Regions from separate parts of the Homo sapiens genome. Here region 1 is linked to region 2. Evidence: promoter capture Hi-C in 16 types of primary human blood cells and fetal thymus (Javierre and others, 2016). All regions are on one chromosome and are shown on one strand. Each heading gives the region's core, a stretch centred on a gene start or on the middle of the fragment in contact. The rest is flanking DNA. Distances are from core to core; before and after follow the strand shown. Region 1 holds the start of MRPL32 (mitochondrial ribosomal protein L32). Region 2 holds the start of MPLKIP (M-phase specific PLK1 interacting protein).

The links. Contacts are between HindIII fragments. The CHiCAGO score rates a contact against its expected background, and 5 or more counts as called.
Region 1: a contact is called between a fragment that was not itself captured here and the fragment with the promoter of MPLKIP in region 2, in 1 of 17 cell types (total B cells). The highest score is 6.4, in total B cells.

Annotation. Positions count from the first base shown.
Region 1 is chr7:42,931,930-42,936,037 of GRCh38, forward strand. It overlaps MRPL32 (mitochondrial ribosomal protein L32), which reads left to right and starts at 447. Exons shown (of 3, transcript NM_031903.3): 1 at 447-587; 2 at 3,026-3,207. The coding sequence starts at 458. PSMA2 (proteasome 20S subunit alpha 2) reads right to left here and starts at 245. Exons shown (of 8, transcript NM_002787.5): 1 at 189-245. The coding sequence starts at 229. RefSeq lists an enhancer at 396-625. The HindIII fragment of the contact is 641 bases long and covers 1,176-1,816 here.
Region 2 is chr7:40,132,840-40,137,181 of GRCh38, forward strand. MPLKIP (M-phase specific PLK1 interacting protein) reads right to left here and starts at 1,783. Exons shown (of 2, transcript NM_138701.4): 1 at 1,390-1,783; 2 at 1-420. The coding sequence starts at 1,728. The coding sequence ends at 220. SUGCT (succinyl-CoA:glutarate-CoA transferase) reads left to right here and starts at 2,166. Exons shown (of 14, transcript NM_001193313.2): 1 at 2,166-2,281. The coding sequence starts at 2,182. RefSeq lists silencers at 1,509-1,578, 2,039-2,238 and an enhancer at 1,789-1,858. The HindIII fragment of the contact is 4,548 bases long and covers 195-4,342 here.

The sequences.
Region 1 (4,108 bases), core at 246-2,745, 2.8 Mb after region 2:
CTCCGACCAAGGAAGCTCCAGGAATCCCGGGTCGGCCTGGCAAATGACTTTGCAAAGCCGCATTTCCAACTCCATTCCCTACTGGACCCTCCAGAAGCACCAATGCCGACGTCAGGATGGGAAAAACTAAATCGACAGAGTACCAGCAACCTCGACTACGCTGAAGACCTCGAGGGCCCCTTCCATACCTGAATGTAGTCAGCGAAAAGCTGTACCCGCGCTCCGCCATCTTTACCCGAAGAGCCAAAGCACAGCCGCACACATGCGCACTGTGGCCGATTTCCTTTCATTTCCCCGCCCCTCACCTTTCCTTTACTCTCTATGATTGGAGGAGAGTCAGAGCTGCTCCAAGAGCATGCGGGGTGTTGTAGTTCTAAGAAGCGAGGCTTGCCCGATTCTGTGCCTGTGCGCATGCTGAAAGCAGGGGCGGGACCGGGGCGGTCTTCCAGCAGGGAAAATGGCGCTGGCCATGCTGGTCTTGGTGGTTTCGCCGTGGTCTGCGGCCCGGGGAGTGCTTCGAAACTACTGGGAGCGACTGCTACGGAAGCTTCCGCAGAGCCGGCCGGGCTTTCCCAGTCCTCCGTGGGGTAGGTAAAGAAGGGCTCCGTGGGAGAGGGGGCTGATGACGGGACCTCGGGCAGCGTAGCAGACGCAGCTTACACAGTTCGCCCTCAGCCCCGGTTCTGATCCGCGGCCTCATGTCGGGGACGTAGTTCGTGACATTCCCATATTAGCGAGAACAGAACGACTGTTTTTGCGCTCCCTCCACCGCAAAAAAAAAAAAAAAAAAATTCCTCTGCTTGTTCCATTCGTACACAGAATGTAACCCAAGCTTGTGTCAAAGATAAATCATAGCCAGCCAGTAAGTAAAGCGCTGAAAACAGATTTTATTCAGTAACTACTGCAGGTAAAGAGCTGAGCTCCATCCCGGTTTGTGCAGAGGTGACTTTGGGCGTTTTAAAGGGAGAATGAGCGAGGCGGGAGTGTAGGGGCTCTGTAGAGTCAGAGAAGTGTAGTATAGTGAAGTCAGTGCAAATGTGATTAGCCGGCTGTGTCTGCTAGCTCGCAGTTGTCTTAGGGAGAATTCTATCCTCCCGCAGAGACTGGGAGACAAAGGCCCTATCCTTCCTAATGATTAGATTTCGAAGGAATGGCTCTCAGGGCCTTGAAAGAAAAGCTTCCGAGTTAGTTGCAAGGGATACGTATTTACAATTATATGCCCTTTCCAGGAAATGCTCTAAGGGAGTTCGGGACCTACTATCGGGGTATGTTGGCCAAAATAAATAGGAAATTTTCCAGGCAGCGTTGAGCTTTCTCAGGCAGGCACTTTAAAGGGGGGGCCGAGGTCATCCTAGGATACAGCCTTATGCTGCTAGAAACTATGCTAGAGTTTGGTCAAGTCTGTGGAGTTCAGGGATTTGTACAGAGTTGTCCTGAGAGGACAGTTCTGCAGGTCTCACTTGGCATCAAGGCTCACCACTCTCTGGATCTGTCTTTCCTTTCCAGCCCTGCCCTCACCTCCCCTCCCGCTTCCCCTCTCCCCCCTCTCCTCTTCCCTTCCCTTCCCTCCCTTCTTTCCTCCCTTCCTCCCTCCCTCCCGCGCAGTACATGTTTTCTGTGGTGTTTGAGCTCTGAGGAGCTGAATTCTGTTTCCCATGTTTCACTTGGAATTAATTTTAATTGGAAGTATCTTGGATGTTGAAACTGTCATGGCTTTGGCATTTACATTCTACTCAATTTCTAAGCAGCCTGAAAGTGATAATATCCAGAAATATACCAAGAAAATATATGCCACTATATGCCAAGCAATGTGCCAAGCTTTCTACATGTACTTCCTGGGATAATCTTGACAACAGTCCCATTAGGTGTATACACTTTCCAACTGAAACAGTAGGCTCACAATGGTCCCAAGTTCACAGACAGTCCTGAGCCTGTGTTGTTAATCACCGGGGCATGCTTGGCAATACTTGTGGACATACTGAAAATAAATGCCAGTTGTTAAGTGTTAGAGAACTTTGTGTATTTTTAAGAGTTCTTAAGATCAAAAGAAGTATGTGGGCTGGGCGCGGTGGCTCACACCTGTAATCTCAGCACTTTGGGAGGCCAAGGTGGGTCCATCACCTAAGGTCAGGAGTTCAAGACCAGCCTGGCCAACATTGTGAAACCCTGTCTCTACTAAAAATACAAAATTAACCAGGCGTGGTGGTGCACACCTGTAATCCCAGCTACTTGGGAGGCTGAGGCAGGAGAATCACTTGAACCAGGGAGGCGGAGGTTGCAGTGAGCCGAGGTCACGCCACTGCACTCTAGCCTGAGTGACAGAGTGAGACTCAGTCTCAAAAAAAAAAAAAAAAAGTATGGCACGTCTAAGAAATAGCAAGGAAAGGGTAAAGGAATGTTGATTTTATAAGCAATTCAGAAAAAGAGAAACTTTGATAGTCACATAAATAAGGCCATACAGAGAAATGGTGAGCTGGCTCTTTTCTTTAGAGAGCAGACAGGAATCAAGATTAAATGTTATGAGGAACTAAGTGACTTAAGAGGTTGTATCATAAAGGACCTGACTCAGTTTGAATATAAGAAAAGGCAATTGGCAGTTACATCAGTGCCGGTCAGAAGTGTATTCAGGAAATCTGTCTAGATTTACTTGTAAATTAATCAGGTACTTACTACCCGCCAAGTATTAATAGAATGTGGACAGTTGAGTGATTCTTTGCTTGTTTTGTTCAAGTTAGGTGCCTATCAGAGTCCTGTATTTTATGAGATAAGAAACTTGATGGAATTTCACTGATCTTCTTTTCAGCAGGATCCGCTAAGAAAAAATTCTGTGTTCCTTAAAATTGTATAAGCTTTAGTGTATTTTAATAGCTAAGGTTTCTCATTATTGAGTTTCACATTCTAAATTTTATATATAGTTTTTGTGTGTGTGTATGTTTGACCATTGATTGTTAAGGAAAATGATATCTGTAAATAGTAATTTAGAAGCTAGAAACTAATTCTGTATCTCTTATGTTTTATTTCCTAGGACCAGCATTAGCAGTACAGGGCCCAGCCATGTTTACAGAGCCAGCAAATGATACCAGTGGAAGTAAAGAGAATTCCAGCCTTTTGGACAGTATCTTTTGGATGGCAGCTCCCAAAAATAGACGCACCATTGAAGTTAACCGGTGTAGGAGAAGAAATCCGCAGAAGCTTATTAAAGTTAAGGTAATGCATTGATTTTTGTGGGTGTGCTTTTCCTCAAGTCCTCCATTGAATAAGCTCATGGTAGATTCCTATAGCCTAGGAATAAATTATTATCAGATTATATGTGTCTACTTTCCTCTGGCCTAAATGAAATACAGTATTCTCATTATATACATAATGAGAAGGCTAGAGCCTGCTGTCCTCTAGCCTGAGTATTAGAAACACAGTCAAGGAAGGAGTGAGTTTGGAGACTGGGCAAGGAACGAGGCTGTGAGGTGCCTACATGACTTCTGAATTGTGAGCTGTGTCAGTCTTGAGCTGTGTGAGTTTTGAACTACAGATGAGTAAACATCCTAACTATGGCAGAGCCTAGAATTAAAGCTAGAAGCAGTAGGTATACTGAATCTTGGGTTTTACAAGCCCTTACATATTTGTTTTATTTTTTTATCATTTCCAACAAAATACCATGAAGGAAAACCCTAAGATAAGTAATATAATAGCTAACAACAATTAAGTGTCTATGATGTATCTCAGTGCCTTATGTTTATTATATCTCATCATGTCTTATAGCCCTCCAAAGCAAATAAGATATTCTTCATTATTAGGATGAAAAAACTGAGGCAAAAAGAATTTGCCTGTGGTCACACAGCTATGAAGCAGTAGATTTTCGAGCTCTGATTTTTGACCTCATGTTCTTTTAAAGATTTTCTTTGTGTTCTCCTATCCTCAGACAATTTCAGATTCTCCTCGCTGACAACATGGATGTACTGTCTTCATTGATCTAGTAAAGAAAAATTACAGTGTGTATTACCTCTGATCTGTTCATGTATGGTTTTAACAGTTAGGATTTCAGTTACTGTTTACTTCATGGCGTTCCACAACAGCAGCACCATACAGATGAAACTCGAGAACAGAAAGCTGA
Region 2 (4,342 bases), core at 533-3,032:
TCTCTAAAATGTGGTAGGTACTTCCAGAGCTAAATGTTGCAAGTTATCCTACTTTTTTCTCTAATATCAACAATACCTGATACGATGAAAAATAACAAAAAGACCTTACTAATTATCCAATCAAAGTCATCATCTTTGGGTAAATTTATATCAACACAACTTAAAGTTTTGTCCAAGATGTTCCTGACACATGAAGCTTCCAGTTGAATTTCAGAAATGTTAACAAAAGTATCTTCCTTTTTTGCCTGTGAATGTTTGAGTATTGCTGTATTGTTGGCTTATATCCACTACAGATACTGGTTCTAGGCCAGCCCAAGGATCTTCAAGCATTGAAGGCTTGAAATAATTTTCCAACTCATTAGACATTCTTTTTTCTCTAACACGCCCTGATCCAAATGGTGTAGATGTCCTTGGAGAACCCTTTAGAAAAAAAATCAGTTAAAAAAACACTTAGTAAAGATAATTGGTACTTCTTCCTTTAGCTAAAGGTTAGCGGGAATCACATTGCTGCTTAAAAGTTGTGACTTGAACCTAAATAATGTTCAATTACAAAGTCCATGCTTCCTTTAATCAAGTGTTCCTATTTTTTAAAAAAAGTACTTAAAGCAATTCGTTATTCTCATTTATTTATAATTCCATGACCACTGTCATCTCAAATACTTTTGTGTCTAATGTAGTAACTTTGCAGTAATTAAATACAAGCAGTGATGAAATCAAGTAATTATATTCAATTTTCCCTCGAAATTTTCACTTTTTTCAGGAGAAAACAATACTATAGTTTTAAAGTTTCTAGAACCTTTCTAGCTCATGAACATTTTCTTTACTCCTTAGCTCCAGGCTCAAAAGGGGTAGGGGGTTGGTGTAGAATACAGCAAGTTGGAAAACCACGTAGTTGCAAGTTGTAAACCACAGAAATCCCAGACATGCTAGAGATACTCTCTCTGTCTTTTGTATTTACTCTCACTAAAGGAATGGAAAACTTCCACTACCACCGATTTTCTTTTCAGGGAAGTTGGAGCAGAAGCCAGTGTAGCTCGAAAGAAAGATAAAAAAAAAAAAAAAAAAAAGAAAAAGAACTATTTCTTGAAACAAACTGGCAAGGCCTTTGGCAAACAGGAGGAAATGGAGAATTAGGAAAATCTGTGTACGGGTGGCAGTGTATTGGTTAAAAGCACGAGGGCTCGAAAACAGAACGTACGGCTCTGCCACTCTTTCGGATAATCTTCCGGAAGTCACTCAACTTCTCTAAGCCTCAGTTCGCTCATCTGCAAAATTGGGCTAACAATAGTACCTCAGAGAGGATTAGACAAAATAATCCACGTAAAGGGAATATTAGTACCGTGCCTGCCATAAAGTAAGAGCTCGGCAAACGCTGGCTATTATTATTACCTGGGGGTGGGTCTGCTGCTGCCCTGGGGAGTAGCCGAATTGCTGCTGGGACCCCGCGGGGGACCTGGAGTAGGAGCCAGGGTAGCCGCCAGGGGACGGAGACCCGAACCGGCCCCCCGGGAAGCTGCCGCCGTGTCGCGGAGAGTGACTGCTCCCGTACGGCCTAGACCGGGGCCCGTACGGCGGCGTGTGGTGCGGACTCCCGTACCCGTCTCGAGGGGAGGGCGGCCGTGGTCCGCCCCCGCCCGGGGTTCCCCGGAAGCTGCTTCCGCTACCCCAACCTCCTCCACCCGGACCAGGGTAAGGAGGAGTTGGGGGCCGAAAATTCTGTCGCTGCATATCAGGAGCCAAAGCCGAAAACCTCGCAGCCGCGTTCTCCCACCGGAACTGTATCAACCGGCCCTCCGCAGAGAACTGCTAGTCCTTTACCAAAACAGTCCTCCGACCGCAGCCACCCTACGGCACATCAGTTCCGGCGTCACAAAGGTTCCGCCAGGGGCGGCGGGATTACCTAAATCACTGACTTGGCGAGAGACTCAGTGGATTTAAGTGAAAAGAGGAAGAAAAGGAGACAGGAAAGGACGGACACCCAAGCCCAGCAACAACCTTTCCAGTCTGAGTGCCCTTGGTCTGACCGACAGACTAGAAGCTGGCCCAGCAGGCGACTAGTGCTCAGCCCCGCCCGGCGGGGGCGGGGTCTGCGGCGTCCGTGGGCGCCCCCCAGTGGCGGCGGGTGGCGCCGCACGGAGTTCGCCGCTTGCACCGGGACCGATGCCATCTGAGACGCACGCGATGCTGGCGACGCTGGCGAGGGTGGCAGCTCTGCGCAGAACCTGCCTCTTCTCCGGCCGGGGCGGCGGGAGGGGGCTGTGGACTGGCCGCCCGCAGTCAGGTACCCTCCGAGATTCGGTCTGGGTGGCTAAAGGGATCCCTGCCCCAGCTTGCCTCCTCGGGCGCCCTGAGGAGAGCAATTAGGGTCTGAAGTCTCTGCTGACCCCTTAGCGGTGGCTTTGCTCGCCTCCCTGCAACCCCGTTCCGTGGGCCTGCGGCCGGCCTGCCCCGCTCTGGCCGCCCAGGGTCGCCTCTGTCCCGTGCGTTGTTGTGACCGAGGGCTCCGTGCGCCGTGGGGTCCCGCTCCTGCGCGTCCCGCGGCTCGCGTTTGGGGCCTCTTTACTCCTGTCCTTTCGTCCGCCAAGTTTAAGTAACTTCGAAAATGCACACCAAGCCACATTTCAGAAAGGACTTTAGCCCGCTGCTTTGAATAACTTGACACTTCATGTACAATAAAAGATGCCCTTGTACAGTTACCTGTTGCAGAATTTTATTTAGAGGATGAAATTTAGCTTTACTACAGTGTTATAGAACTTTCTTTACTCCCTCTGAATTTGGGAATGGTAATCCACTATGAATCTTTTTTTTCCTTTTTTCTTTTTTTCTCTTTTTTTTGAGACGGAGTCTCGCTGTCTCGCCCAGGCTGGACTGCAGTGGCGCGATCTCGGCTCACTGCAACCTCCTCCTCCCGTGTTCAGGAGATTTTCCTGCTTCAGCCTTCCGAGTAGCTGGGATTATAGGCATGCGCCACCACGCCCAACTAATTTTTGTATTTTTAGTAGAGACGGGGTTTCGCCATATTGGCCAGGCTGGTCTCGAATTCCTGACCTCAAGTTATCCTCCCGCCTCGGCCTCCCAAAGTGTTGAGATTACAGACGTAATCTCTATGATTATGCGCGCGGCCCACTATGAATCTTGAAATTAGTTGCAGGATGCAGGATTTTTTTTTTTTTTTTTGAGACAGTCTCGCTCTGTCGCCCAGGCTGGAGTGCAGTGGCGCGATCTTGGTTCACCACAACCTCTGCCTCGCGGGTTCAAGCGATTCTCTTGCCTCAGCTTTCTAGAGTAGCCGAGATTACAGGCATGTGCCACATGCCCGGCTAATTTTTTTGTATTTTTAGTAAAGACGGGTTTCACCATGTTGGCCAGGCTGGTCTCAAATTCCTGGGCTCAAGTGATCCGCCTGCCTCTGCCTCCCGAAGTGCTGGGATTTCATGCGTGAGCCACCGCGCCTGGCGTAGGATACAGAATCTTAAAAGAGCTTTAGGACTCATTAAATCATAGCCTAACGGGTAGCCTGGACCTGTGATTTCCATTCACCCTCTTGTAGCTGCTACTCCTCGCTGTCTCTTTGACATGTTCTGTGACATCCCAAGCTGACGAGTGTGGTATCTTCTCAGCTTCTATCCTCCTTGATGAATGGAGACACACACAGACAGTTTTTTTGTTTGTTTATTCTGTGGAAATTCAATTCACTACATTTCGTTTCTTCTGTAGATACAAGTGATAGACTTAATCAAGGTAGCACGTTGCCATTAAGGCTTAGTGATACAATTAAGGTCGGAGGACTCCAGCCTATCCACTTTATTAAATACAGTAGTTCTGTCCTGGCCAAAAATTCACCTTTCTGGACATTGTCTTTAGTGTTTAACTTAATGCTTGGGAATTGCTCATTTGAATATTTATTGAATAAAATGACCTAGGTGGGACGATTGCTTGAGCCCAGGAGTTGAAGACCAGCCTGGGCAACATCGTGAAGCCCCATTTCTACCAAAAATACAAAAAAAATTAGCCGGGCTTGGTGGCGTGCGCCTGTAGTCCCAGTTGCTTGGGAGGCTGAGGTGGGATGGCTTGAGTCCTAGGAGGTTGAAGCTGCAGTGATCCGCTATTGTGCCACTGCACTCCAGCCTGGGTAACAGAGCGAGACCCTATCATGCCCCCCCACCCCACTGGAAAAAAAAAAGGTTCACATACATCACATAGGTAATTTTCACCTTTTAGATCATCAGCCAGTCTACTCAGGGGAGGGGGCAGAAAAGTGAGAGTGGTGGGGACCAAAATTAACTTTATTATTATTATTATGGACATGGGGTGGTCTCACTCTGTCACCGAGGCTGGAGTG